Regions from separate parts of the Homo sapiens genome. Here all the other regions are linked to region 1. Evidence: promoter capture Hi-C in human tissues and cell types (Jung and others, 2019). All regions are on one chromosome and are shown on one strand. Each heading gives the region's core, a stretch centred on a gene start or on the middle of the fragment in contact. The rest is flanking DNA. Distances are from core to core; before and after follow the strand shown. Region 1 holds the start of MOCOS (molybdenum cofactor sulfurase). Region 2 overlaps FHOD3 (formin homology 2 domain containing 3). Region 3 has its middle 74 kb from the start of MIR187. Region 4 overlaps LOC105372064 (a long non-coding RNA gene). Region 5 has its middle 32 kb from the start of MIR187.

What was found. The method cuts DNA at HindIII sites, captures the fragments that hold promoters and counts their contacts. A contact is called where the count stands out against the background at its distance.
Region 2: a contact is called between a fragment that was not itself captured here and the fragment with the promoter of MOCOS in region 1, in 1 of the 25 tissues and cell types used here (aorta).
Region 3: a fragment that was not itself captured here is called in contact with the fragment with the promoter of MOCOS in region 1 in 1 of the 25 tissues and cell types used here (mesendoderm cells).
Region 4: a contact is called between a fragment that was not itself captured here and the fragment with the promoter of MOCOS in region 1, in 1 of the 25 tissues and cell types used here (heart right ventricle).
Region 5: a fragment that was not itself captured here is called in contact with the fragment with the promoter of MOCOS in region 1 in 1 of the 25 tissues and cell types used here (spleen).

The regions. Positions count from the first base shown.
Region 1 is chr18:36,186,064-36,188,763 of GRCh38, reverse strand. MOCOS (molybdenum cofactor sulfurase) reads right to left here and starts at 1,267. Exons shown (of 15, transcript NM_017947.4): 1 at 1,083-1,267. The coding sequence starts at 1,224. COSMOC (cell fate and sterol metabolism associated divergent transcript of MOCOS) reads left to right here and starts at 1,329. Exons shown (of 2, transcript NR_134605.1): 1 at 1,329-1,529. RefSeq lists silencers at 1,165-1,354, 1,200-1,463 and an enhancer at 2,223-2,700. The HindIII fragment of the contact is 25,317 bases long and covers 1-2,700 here.
Region 2 is chr18:36,563,090-36,565,789 of GRCh38, reverse strand. All of the region lies in intron 5 of FHOD3 (formin homology 2 domain containing 3), which reads right to left. Among named protein-coding and RNA genes, the nearest start is that of TPGS2, 260 kb to the left of the region's middle. The HindIII fragment of the contact is 5,121 bases long and covers 1-2,700 here.
Region 3 is chr18:35,829,247-35,831,946 of GRCh38, reverse strand. No RefSeq gene overlaps it. Among named protein-coding and RNA genes, the nearest start is that of MIR187, 74 kb to the left of the region's middle. The HindIII fragment of the contact is 5,187 bases long and covers 1-2,700 here.
Region 4 is chr18:35,722,057-35,724,756 of GRCh38, reverse strand. All of the region lies in intron 1 of LOC105372064 (a long non-coding RNA gene), which reads left to right. Among named protein-coding and RNA genes, the nearest start is that of MIR3975, 130 kb to the right of the region's middle. The HindIII fragment of the contact is 3,436 bases long and covers 1-2,700 here.
Region 5 is chr18:35,872,042-35,874,741 of GRCh38, reverse strand. No RefSeq gene overlaps it. Among named protein-coding and RNA genes, the nearest start is that of MIR187, 32 kb to the left of the region's middle. The HindIII fragment of the contact is 4,153 bases long and covers 1-2,700 here.

The DNA of each region.
Region 1 (2,700 bases), core at 18-2,517:
GTTCTCACAGCCCCCAAAGGGAAAACACAGTTACCCTCCACAACACCAGGAAGTGACCCGAAGCGCTGAAATCAGCTACCCGAGTAGTGAAACCTAAGTCATGGTTGCTGTTCTGCCCCCAGAAGGGGAGCAGTCACCAGTTGTTCATCGCGACAGAGCAGATACACTCAAACCCCGGTGCCCTGTGCCAAGACGTGCCCACTTCACCTGCACACCCTCCTTGACCATCCGGCACGCGGCCCTGGGGCTTGATGAAGCCCTGCACCCAAAGTCCCTGGCAGAGGGATGAGTCACGAACTTGGGCCCTGGCAGCAGAGGGCTGGGTCGGCCAAGGCCAGATGGAGCTTGATTTGCAATTTCATCAGCCTGTTCCGCTCTGAGGAAAGGCACGATGTGATCTTGGTGTTGTCTAATTCACAGGCTCGCCCTGTTCTTAAAGGTGAAATTGCACTGTTTGCTAATTCTTCTAGTCCCCCAGAGAACTGGAGCTCAGAGGGATTGTTCTGACGCTGTAAGAGTAAGGAAAATGAGGTTTCGAAAATCAAAGCTGAATACAGGCTATCCCAGAGGAGTCTGCAGAGCGCAGCCTCGGGAGGCCCCGGCCAAGAGGCCTTGGCCTCCCGGTCCCAACCTGGCGCGCCGTCAGAGGTGCTGTCCCAGCCCGGGCGCTGGCGGTCCACGCACCGCTCCTACCTCGGGAGGACATCCGAAGGGTCACGGCCGCTGGACATGCTGTCTTTTGCAACCCCGGCCCCAGCAGGCCCTTTACAGTGAGGGGTCTCCCGCAAGAGAGGGCAAGAACCATCCTAAGCCCCGCTCGCGGAGGGCGGGAAAAGGGGAAGACGGCTAGGTTGGTCCTGCCCACCGGAAAGTCGGAAGAGTAAGAGTAGCAAGAAGCCTTGGGGCTGCAGGTGGGACCTCAGGGAGCCGTGTCTACTAGGAGGACGCGTGGACACGTCCCTCCTGGAGTTTCGATTCAAAATGCGCCCGAATGAGGTAGCGCCGCTCTCACTAGGAGCAAAAGATCCGTCCACGTCGGTTCCAGAAACCTCGTGTCCCCCAAGCCTGCCCGCCCGCCTCACCTGCCAGGCGGCTGAACTCGCGCGCCCGCAGCTCGCGCAGGCTGCCCGGGCCGTAGCCGTAGGCTAGCCGCGGTGCGCTCGGGTCCCGGGAACCCGCGAAGGTCCACAGCTCCCGCCCTGACTCCGCCGCCGCGCCGGCCATGGCCCCGGCTAGTCCATCCAGGCCGGCCGGGCCCGGGAAGTGCGCGAAGCCGGCCCCCGGCGACTCCGCCCCCGCCACGCCTCCCAGGCCTCCAGCCTCCCAGTCTCTCGGAATCCGCAGCCTAGGTGTGGCGCCCCGACCGGACTTTCACTTCTGGCCAGCCCTTTCCCCACCTGGGCGCGGGAGCGGGTGCCAGTCTTTAAACAACCTCTCGATGGGTCCCACGAAGATGTTTCCAGACCCTTGGAATGCCAAGTTCAAGTTTAGCTATGTCTCGCGGAGAGGCCGGTGGAAGAAGCAACGAGGTGATCTTTCCTGCTTGGCATCGGCATCCTGGAACCCCGCGACCCTCCTCCTCGCAGGGGTCTCGGGACCCTCACCCTCTCAAGCGGGAACCGGCGTCTGGCGGGGGCGGGGGTGGGGGCGTTCTCGGGTTGCTGCTACCCAGCGGGGCGTGTGCTTGCCGTTTGTTAGAATGCGGCTGACCAAAGGGTAGAAAAGGGGAAAGATTAGGGATCCACGAGGCTAATAAATTCTCAGTGGCTGCACACTTTCGGAACCGGGAAGCTCGGGGGCTTCCCCCGGAGCGGGCCCTGCAGCTGGGATCCAAGTGAGCTGAGCTTCCCCGCCCTCCCAACCGCGTCCTGGGCCCTACTTCCTGCCCTTGCCTCCCCAACCCTGCATCCCGCCCCGCACTTCCCGCACGTGGGTGTGGCCGGGCCCTCTCTATTAAAGCAAGAGTGCCCTAGGACAAAGCCGCCCCTGTCCCGGACAGAGTGGAATAAGAGCGCCTCCTTCAATCCCCACTCGCGCCTGCACCCAGAGCACCTGGGACACAGCGGCTCTGTCTTGGAGAACAGGTGCCTCAATAGGGAGGGCCTGGCCAAACCTATGCGCGGGAAGTGCGGAGCGGGATGCAGGGGTGGGGCGGCAGGTGCAGGTAGTAGAGCCCAGGCATGCGGTTGGGGGGTGGGGGGAAATCTCACGTGCGATCCCAGGTGCGGAACCCGCTGCTGGGAATGGGGTGGAAGCAAAACAGGTACTGCACGCACAGGCGAGGTGCCTCGTGGGGGAATCGAATGTCAGGGATGGTGGACAGTGCGGATGGGCGGCAGGTGCTGGGGCTCAGGGGAGATAACTCAGAGGCAGGCTCGGTGGAGAACCCAAGGCCGGCGACCAGGTGCAGGCGGCCCACAGGCCCTGGAGGCATACAGCGGGGGGACAAGGTGGGAAGGAGGCCTATGCCCCAAGAGCTCAACCTGTGCTGCATCCAGGCCAGCTGCCACCCAGGGTATGGGCCGCAGATGCCCTAGGATCCTTGCTGATGCATGATGCATACCGGTGCCCAGCGTGAGAGCCATGGGAAGGCAGCACGCAGCCCTGGCTCTCCCGCCCAGGCCCCTGATACCAGGCCAGAGAAAGACCCGCCACTAAGAGCTCATTTCCCCCTGGCCGGAGACCCAGGGGTCTGTGGAC
Region 2 (2,700 bases), core at 178-2,677, 380 kb before region 1:
GGCTTGTCTGTCTTCCCACTCTTCACTTCATTTTCTTTTACAGAAGCAGTATAAAGAAAATACTTTTCTGTTGCCATTCAATAAGATATTTTGCCATTTGAGAATGTGACTGGAAATAATTCCTATTTATTTCTACCAAAAGTACAGAAAAAAAAATAAATGAATGGTATGAAACATTAAAGAAACTTACCACAGGGCAACATTCTGCTATAAGCAAGTATCAGTGGTAACTAGGTTTTATTTTGTTTTGGGAGGAATGATCTGTGATTTGCACATTGGGAATGAAGATGGGGATACTGTAGGGTACAATCAGTTCTTCCATGAGCCCATCACTAAGCACCAAGATAGGCACTGCTTTCTTCAATTAGAACACAGGAGCTCTGAAAATGTGCAGTGAGTTTTTAAATCAAAGTAATCTCCAGAGAGAAAAACAAAACAAAACTATTAGTATCACTCACCCCTTATCTTCTGGGAAGGGCTAATTCATCTTAAAGAAGGGATTTCAATTAATTTTAATCAGACCATTAAAATTCATTCTTCTTAACTCTGAACTGGATTTGTCTACCCCTAATTTCCATTATTCACCAGAGCCCGCAGTAAGTATTAAAAAGAGGTTGATATTGTTGACATTCTTGGAACTAAATGAAGACCTTGGAGTCTAGTTATTATTCTTTTCCACTTAATTGTCTGCCCTAAATAACAAGCTCCGGTCCAGTTTTCCCCAAGGGCAACTGTCAAAGAAATACTCTTTCAATACCTATTACAGCATGAAAATTAAGGAGAATAAGCTGCCAATTCTAGGCTGGAGACAAGAATTTAATCAGCACAAAGAGCTCCAACAAGGTGTCAAAGTTTTGAGTCCCTTGCTGACATTTAGCAGCATTTGCAATGCAAATTTTTCTAAAGCAGTCTTAAATTACTACCCTCTCTCTACCTTAGAATGACCATTTTCTAAAAAAGGTCCCCCAAAAAAGTTGTTAAAAAAATCAGACCTAATATTCTCCCCTAACACTTACAAGCTTAACTCTTAGTAACTCTCAAAGGAGGGAGGGCCCGTCTCCCCTCCCTCCTCCCCAGGCCTTCCAAACAGAAACACTGACACTGATGTGCTTCTTTCTGATAGACCTTTCTTCCCAGCAGGACATTATGTAGCTAAGCTCTCTGCATCTTCTCCCATCTAATACACACAGAAGACTGGTTTGTTTCTGGCCTATTCATTCATCTTCCCAACAGCAGCAAAGTTTATATCCAAGATTCCCATGCTAAAGATTTAAAAGGAGCCCTCATCAGCCACCTGTACAGAAACAGGTGCTTCATTACTGCTGGGCTGTAGCAGCCTCAGTTACACCTATGCTCCTCACCCTCTCCCAGTCTTTCCCGTTCTACAGTCCCCCATATTTTAGATAAGGAGACACCAAAGGAATGAAGGAAAGTATAACAGATTAGCAAGTTTTGAACCTCTAAAAATTTTTGGCAGACTTCTAGGTTCTCTATGGAAAGTAAAACAGTCATTTTAATGATCTATTCTATAATGATCTTCTAAGACTTACATCCAATGAAATACCAGTGGAAGCACACAGCCTCTCCAAAACAGGTCACAGCCACAGGTGGAATGAACCAGAAATGGACTCTGCAGCAGGGTCAGCAGTGGCTGGACTGTCTCATTCGCGCTCATGTGTTCACCTGGGGTGTCACCTGGGGTGACACCGAGTCAGTGACAAGGGCTTGGCCAATGAACCCGGGAAAAGCAGCTCCTCCTAGCTTAGTGACGGCCCATGCAGGACACATACACTTAGGGCATCTGTCCCTGACTGACATCCCTGCTTACCAGGTGACAGAGACAATGAACACAAGGTGTAGAGACGAGTAATTAAGCCCAAGCAGAGTGGAATGGAGCTCATAAACACCCAGATTCAGAGAAGGGTGCAGCTGATATGAGCCTGAGTAATTAGAGGAGGATTCATGGAGAGGCTGACAAGAAACATACCTTAAAGGATGGGGCACATGTAGCTGGGAGAAGACACATGAGTTTCCAGGGCATGAGAAAAGAAAAGATACCAGAATAGTTCCCCTGATTTTTGCTTCTAAGACAGTACCGCATCAAGAAAACTCACGGGACTTAAACCCACGGAGAAGCTGGTTTGCATGTAATCTCCACCATTTCTTACTTCCAAAAACTATGGAGCTTACGCAGTCATAAGATGGAAGACAAGTCCAACCTGGATCCTGTATGGTTAGGATGAAATATGCTGATGTATTAGCACAGCACGTGGCTGATGGTTGGCTGTTCTTGATGCTGTTATGCTAATTAACCTCTCTGGACTTCAATGGTATCATCTGAGAGACACAAGGGTTTAACCCAAAGACCTCCAAAACTCCCAGTTCCAAGGTAACATTACTCGAAAGCCCCTGCGGGGGTGTATTATGAAGTGTCTGGCACTAGGGAGCAAGCTTTCACTAGGTATTTCTATCTGCAGTCTGAGGTTTCAGACATGATTCCACAAATGTGCCTTATTAATATACAACCCTTCAAAAATCAGTCCTCTGTAAAAATCAGAAATAGGTTTTTGGATGTTATGTAAAACAATTAAGAGTACATGCTAGTATATTAATTCTGTACTTCTCTCTATTTAGGATTTCAACACTTTTAGAATTTTAACTTTAAAAACCCTCAATTTACTCAACTTCCTTACTAAAATT
Region 3 (2,700 bases), core at 130-2,629, 360 kb after region 1:
AGATAAAAAAGGAAATAAAAATATTTTATCCCAAAATATGTTTATCTGTCATATTTTGAAATGGCCCTGAAAAGCTATCTTTTGTAGGGGGAAACTTGCATCTGTAAAGAATCTATATTAACACAACTAGATCTTTCCTATTCTAGGCTCTCCCAGTCCTGAAGAGATTAACTGAGCATCTAGCACCTTTTAAAGGTCTGAATAGGAAAAACGTGCCATCTATTATCTCTAAGGCACTCCCTTAGAGACATCTATGAGACACCCATGAAACTTTATCTACATAATAAGAACCTTGATCTCTGCAACTCCTTATCTTAACCCAGACACCCCTTTCCATTGATTCTAAGTCTTTAGATAATAACTTAATTCTCTTAAGCAATTGCTAATGAGAAAATCCTTGAATCCACCTATGACCTGAAAGCCCCCTGCTTCAAGTTGTCCCACCTTTCTGCACAAAATCAATATATACTTCACATGTACTGACTGATGTCTTATGTCTTCCTAAAATGTATAAAGCCAAACTAAAACCCAGCCACCTTAGGCACATGTTCTTCTAACCATACAATGGATTCACCTTGCCTGCTGCCTGGACAATGGAGAAAGAGTAATTCATGCAGAGCTGGCTGTGCAGGAGACCAAAGTTATATTACTACTCAAATCAGTCTCCCCAAGCATTTGAGGATTGCAGTTTTTAAAGATAATTTGGTGGGAAGCAGCTTGGGAAGTAGGGAGTGCTGATTGGGTAGGTTGGAGATGGAATCATAGGGGGGTCTAAGTGACATTTTCTTTCCGTCTTCTGTTCCTGGGTGGGATCACAGAACTGACTGATTCAGATTACTGGTCTGGGTGGTGTCAGCTAATCCATCAAATTCAGGGTCTGCAGATCAAACACTGATCTTAGGTTTTGCAATAGTAATGTTATCCCCAGGAGCAATTTGGGGAGCTTCAGACTCTTGCAGCAAGAGGCTGCATAACCCCTAAACTGTAATTTATTTCCTTCCTTCCTTCCTTCTTTTGTTCTCTTTCTCTTTCTCTCTCTCTCTCTTTCTCTTTTTCTCTCTCTCTCTCTCCCTTTCTCTCCCTCCTTCTTTCTCTCTCTCTCTCTCTCTGTCTCCCTTTCTCCCTTTCTCTCTCTCTCTCTCTTTCCTTTCTTTTTCTTTTTTGAGACTGAGTCTTGCTCTGTCACCCAGGCTGGAATGCAGTGGTGCAATCTTGGCTCACTGTACCCTCTGCCTCCCAGGTTCAAGCAATTCTCCTGCCTCAGCCTCCTGATAGCTGGGGACTACAGGTGCATACCACCATGTCCAGCTAACTTTTTTTTTTTTTGGTAGAGTCAGGGTTTCACCATGTTGGCCAGGCTGACCTCAAACTCCTGACCTGAAGTGATCCTCCCACCTCAGCCTCACAAAGTGCTGGGATTACAGGCATGAGCCACTGCGCCTGGCAGTACTTTCTAATCTTGTAGCTAATTTGCTGGTCCTGCAAAGGCAGACTGGTCCCCAGGTAAGAAGGGGGTCTTTTCAGGAAAGGGCTATTAACAATTTTTTTTTTTCAGAGTCAAACCGTAAACTAAATTCTTTCCCAAGCTTAGTTTGGCCTATGCCCAGGAATAAACAAGGACAGCTTAAAAGTTAGAAGCAAGATGGAGTTGGTTAGGTCTGATGTCTTTCATTGTCATAATTTCCTCAGTTACAGTTTTTGCAAGGGTGGTTTCAATCTCAGGACCTCTTGAGACTGTGTCTTGGGCCTTAGGCACTCATACTTGGCTCAGAATAAACCTCTTTAAACATTTTACAAAGTTTGACTCTTTCTGTCAACACCAGTTACACTTCTCATTTTCCATTAAAAACCTTTGTCTTCCTTTACTTACCTGAATACACAGTTTACTATGGCACATATAGTTGCATTGCAATGCTATATTCCTGAATAAGTATCATTTGCTTTTAGAGAGTCTCTCTCTGTTATTTAGGTTGACACAATAATATGTCAAACCAGGTTTCTCTAGATAACAACTGCCCCCTAGCCATGTTAAGCAATGCTCCCCTGTGAGTTTAAAGGGGCACACAGTAATCTTTTGCTTTAGTTTTGGGACCTCACACTTTTGGAATGAAACTGTCATTGCAAAATTATAACTGAGAAAATTATTACAGTGAAAAAGATCTGACCTAATCAACTCCATCTTGCTTCTAAACTCTAAGCTGTCCTTGTTCATTCCTGGGCACAGGCTGAACTAACTTTGGGAGAATCAGTTTATAGTTTAACTTTGAAACAAAGATGATAATAGCCCTTTGACAAAACAAACCCCTTCCTGCCTGGGGACTAGACTGCCTTTGTAGGACTAACAAATTAGCCACAAGATTAGAAATTACGATTTAGGAGTCATGCAGCTGGAGGCTATAATATTCTGACCCACCCCAAATTGCTTCTGAGGATAATATCACTCTTATAAAACCTAAGATCAGTCCTTGAGATATTTTGCAGCCCCTGCACTGGATGAATCAGCTGGCACCATCCAGACCAATAAACTGGTTCATCTGGTCTTGTGGCCCCCACCCAGGAACTGACTCGGTGCAAGAGGACAGCTTCTGCTCTCTATGATTTCATCTCTGACCCAACCAATCAGCACTCCCAACTCAATGGCCTCCCACCTACCAAATTATGCTTAAAAACTCTGATCCCTGAATGCTTAGGGAGACTGAT
Region 4 (2,700 bases), core at 102-2,601, 460 kb after region 1:
CTTCATCTATTCTGTTGTTAATGTTTCCAATTGTATTCTGAAATTCCTGTAGTCAATTTTTCAGTTCCTGGAGTTCAGTTTTGGTTCTTTCTTAAAAAGGTTATACCATCTTTCAACTCTTGTATTATTTTACTGTTCTCCTTGGATTGGGTTTCAACTTTCTCCTGTTTTTTTCTTTTTTATTTCTTTTTTTTTTTTTAGCTTCAACTTTCTCTCTTTTTTTTTTTTTAGCTTCCTTGCTATCTAGATTCTGAATTCTATGTCTGTCATTTCAGCCATTTCAATCTGGTTAACAGCCACTTCTGGGGAGCTTGTGCAATTGTTTGGAGGTAAGAAAACACTCTGGCTTTTAGAATTGCCGGAGTCCTTGTGCTAGTTCCCTCTCATCTGTGAGGGCTGGTGTTCCTTTATCTTTTGAAGTTGCTGTGATTTGGATGGGGCTTTTTATGGTCTTTATTTACCTTGAGGGTTTGACTGTAGTGTAAGTTGAGTATAGTTGATTGGCTTTGTTTCTGGATGCTTTTAGAGGGCCAAGGCTCTTCACAGGATTTTTATTTGTTGCTAGAACACTGCACTGGGTTTCACAGGCAATGAAAGCAGGAAGTATTTTTTGGTGGTGTAATTCAGGCTGCAATCAGTAGATTATGCTTAAGAGTAAGGGCTTGTACATCCCCAGGAAGCTACCAATGACTTTCTTCACAGAATTGGAAAAAAAAACTACTTTAAAGTTCATATGGAACCAAAAAAAGGCCACATTGCCAAGACAATCCTAAGCAAAAAGAACAAAGCTGGAGGCATCACGTTACCTGACTTCAAACTATACTACAAGGCTACAGTAACCAAAACAGCATGGTACTGGTACCAAAACAGAGATATAGACCAATGGAACAGAACAGAGCCCTCAGAAATAATACCATACATCTACAACCATCTGATCTTTGACAAACCTGACAAAAACAAGAAATGGGGAAATGATTCCCTATTTAATAAATGGTGCTGGGAAAACTGGCTAGCCATATGTAGAAAGCTGAAACTGGATCCCTTCTTTACACCTTATACAAAAGTTAATTCAAGAAGGATTAAATACTTAAATGTTAGACCTAAAACCATAAAAACCCTAGAAGAAAACCTAGGCAATACCATTCAGGACATAGGCATGGGCAAGGACTTCATGTCTAAAACACCAAAAGCAATGGTAACAAAAGCCAAAATAGACAAATGGGATCTAATTAAACTAAAGAGCTTCTGCACAGCAAAAGAAACTACCATCAGAGTGAACAGGCAACCTACAGAATGGGAGAAAATTTTTGCAATCTACCCATCTGACAAAGGGCTAATATCCAGAATCTACAAAGAACTTATACAAATTTACAAGAAAAAATCAACCCCATCAAAAAGTGGGTGAAGTATACGAACAGACACTTCTCAAAAGAAGACATTTATGCAGCCAACAGACACACACAAAAAAGGTCATCATCACTGGCCATCACAGAAATGCAAATCAAAACCACAATGAGATACCATCTCACACCAGTTAGAATGGTGATCATTAAAAGTCAGGAAACAATAGGTGCTGGGGAGGATGTGGAGAAATAGGAAGACTTTTACACTGTTGGTGGGACTGTAAACTAGTTCTATCATTGTGGAAGACAGTGTAGCGATTCCTCAAGGATCTAGAACTAGAAATACCATTTGACCCAGCGATCCCATTACTGGGTATATACCTAAAGGATCATAAATCATGCTGCTATAAAGACACATGCACACGTATGTTTATTGTGGCACTATTCACAATAGCAAAGACTTGGAACCAACCCAAATGTCGATCAATGATAGACTGGATTAAGAAAACGTGGCACATATACACCATGGAATAATATGCAGCCATAAAAAAGGATGAGTTCATGTCCTTTGTAGGGACATGGATGAAGCTAGAAACCATCATTCTGAGCAAACTATCGCAAGGACAGAAAATCAAACACTGAGTGTTCTCATTCATAGGTGGGAATTGAACAATGAGAACACTTGGACCCAGGGTGGGGAACATCACACACCGGGGCCTGTCGTGGGGTGGGGGGAAGAGGGGATAGCATTAGGAGAAATGCCTAATGTAAATGACGAGTTGATGGGTGCAGCACAACAACATGGCACGTGTATACATATGTAACAAACCTGCACGTTGTGCACATGTACCCTGGAACTTAAAAGGTATAATAATAAGAAGAAGAACAAAAACAGTAAGGGCTTGTAGATAGACTCTAGCTGAGCCATGTGCCTCTCAGTGTATTTCAATGCATTGGCAGCAGTGCTCTGTCGTGGGGCAGACAGGGTTGGGAGAGAGATGATCCCCTCACCAAGTCCATTCCTGGGTCTTAAAGGAGCCCCCTCCAATCACTGGTGCCGTGCCTGCCTTTCCTTAGCCTCAAAGGCGGCTCTGGTGAGCTGTGCTCCTCCCTCCCTTTGAGGTGGTCCAAGCCAAAGATTAGGTCACCAGGAGACCCACAGCTCTCTGGAGGCCCACCAAGGTCCTCTGTGCTTGGCAGAGTCAGAGCAGGTTGTGGGGTATATCTGTAGGTGGTCTGTTGATGCAGTAGGTCAAGGGCGGGGCATCTGTGGGCAGGGCAGTGTTGTTGTGGGTATGCAGCTGGTGGGGTGCCCATGCCTTGGGTTTTTTGCCAGCAGTCAGCTGTGGGACCTGCC
Region 5 (2,700 bases), core at 3-2,502, 310 kb after region 1:
GATACTGGCTCCCATGAAAGCTAAAATATCTCTACCTAGTAAGGGAGTGGGACTTCCAGGCATGATTAAAAAGTCATGTGTAAATAGTAGGTTCCCCTAGCTACAACTAAAGGATTGAGAAAAATATTGGGTTAGAACCTTTCCTGAGATGCCCTTTATGGTCATGCTATGGGAAGAGGGGAGGCCTGGACTGGAGAGAACAGATAGACTGGCTCCAGCATCCAGAAGGAGGTCCACCCTCCTTCCTTCCATTTCTAGAATCACCTGGGACTCCTGGGCAGTAATGGCAGTTTGGGCCACTGGAGCCGGGAAATTGAGCCCCAGGACCTGTCAGGCTTGCCAGACCATTTGTGAGACCAGTTCTTGACCCAGTGACCTATGTCTCTGAGGGCAGTCTGACCTCCAGTAGTCCCCACTGGACAGGGTCGAGGTGGCTTATTCTTTCTGCCTAGACAGCCCTTCTTAAAGTTCCCTGATTTGGCACACCGATAGCAATTAGTGGGTGCACCTCATGGATCCTGGACTTTACAGGCCTGTAAAGTGGCTATCAGAGCCTCTGTCCTTCTCCTGTGCTTCCTCTCTTTATTCCTGGGCCTCCTCCTGATACCTATCGTAAAAGACCAAGGTGGCCACCCTCAGGAGGTTCTCCAGAGTACTATCTGGTCCTATAGCCTGTTTCTGTAATTTTCTTCTAATATCAGGTGCTGCCTGAGTAATAAACTTGTCCTTTAGGATTAGCTGTCCTTCAACTGAGTCAACAGACAGGGAATTCTGTTTTATTAAGGCCTCTCTCAGTCTTTCCGTAAAAGCTGAGGGATTCACATCTGGTCTCTAATCTATCATGGAGAGCTTAGAGTAATTAAAAGGTTTGGCCCTAGTTTTTTTGTAGGCCCTCCAATATGCATATTAAAAAGTGTTTCATTTTCAGTTCATCAGTGGGGGCACTAGGGTCCCAGCCAAGGTTTTCAAGTAGTATTGCCTCTCTCCCTATTGGGAATGGTTGTTCCATAATTTCCTCTCCTTCCTTATTTCCTCTTTTCCTTTTTGGCCTGCTGTAAGAAATATGTTGTGCATCCCCACATTTTTCTACTGTCTGCAGAGCTGCCTGCCTCTCAGCAGCTGTTAGGGTTTGGTTTAAGAGTAACATAACATCTCTCCATGTGAGGTCAAACACTTGGTCTAGATTTTGGAAAGCCTCTATATATCTGTTGGGGTCATCAGAGAATCTACCCAGGTCTACTTTTATTTGTCTAAGGTTCTGCAATGAGAAGGGAACCTGCACCCTTGTGGCACAATGTCCATCAGGCATTTCTTGCAGGGGTTAAAGTGAAGCTGGGGAAGTAGGGAGTTTTGGAAGTGGTGGAACTGGAGGAGCTGATGGCACAGTTGGAGGAGGGGGCCCCAGATAAGGGGGACAAGAGGGACTGAGACACTTAGTAGTTGTTTCAGAGGATTTTCCAGGAATTAGTTTTCTTAGCTTTGGGGAGTTATTCCCCATGGGTCTGCCTGATATGACTGCTAAAAGAACTGGGTCAATTGTGTATCACTTGCAGAGGTCTGAGTTGTCCTGCAGGGCAAAGAAAACCTGTACATAGGGGACCCCAGACCATTTGCCCTCTCGTCCACAGAAAAGATTAATTGTTGGATAGTATTAAAATAAAGACTTCCCTCAGAAAGCCAGGTTCGTCCATCCCCAAGCTGGTAAGAAGGCCACACCCTTGTGCAAAAGAATATGACCACTTTTTCTTCAGTCCCGGGGTCAAAGAGTTCCAGTGATTCAGAATGCACTCAAGAGGAGAGCAGGCTGAAGATGATTTGTTACCCACCTAGAAAGAAGGGGAGGGGAAGGAAAGGCATCCCTTAGTCTTCTCCCCTGTTTTGGAGTGACCCAGGTGGAGAGAAACACAGTGGGGGCATCCCCCCTACTAGTCTCCTTCCCCTGTGCAAGCCTCCTTGTCTTAGCATTTCCAAGAAGGGAGAGGATGTGCTTACTGGACCCACTGTATGTCCATATGTCACACAGGAGGCCCCTTTATGTATTAGAGCTTGCCTTCCTTATCTGTGTTTGCAGCCTGATTTCTCGGGCTTCTCTTTGCTGAAAGAGAAATGACCTCTTGGGCTGCTTTTTGTTAGAAGAGAAGCTGCTTTTTGTTAGAAGGGAACTCTACTGAGGACCCTTGCCCTAACTATCTGACTAGTTGATTTCTTTTTCTTTCCTCTCACAATATCATTTATGAATATCTATGCAAAAATATGAAATAAAATATCAAAAGGAACCTCACACCAAGTTAAGAATATAATACATCATGACAAAGTGGAATTTATTTTAGGAATAAATAACAAAGTTGGTTCGATGTTAGGCAAGGTTGGTTCAATGTTAGGAAATCCATAAATACACACACCAAATTAATAGTTATAATAATGGAAAATCATCTATGTTCTCCATGGATGCTGAAAAAGGTATTTGACAAGATTTCCAGTGAAAATCTGCAAGGAAATAAGAATTAATCAATAATTTCATTAATGGAGAAACACTAGTGGTATTTTCAATACAGTCAGGATTGAGGCAAGAAGGACCACTATCTTCACTACTATTTAATATTTTACTGAATGTATTAGCCAATATAATTAGAAAAGAGAAATAAATTAGAGGCAAAATAGTTAGAAAAAAGGAAGTAAAAGTCTATATTTGGAAAATAT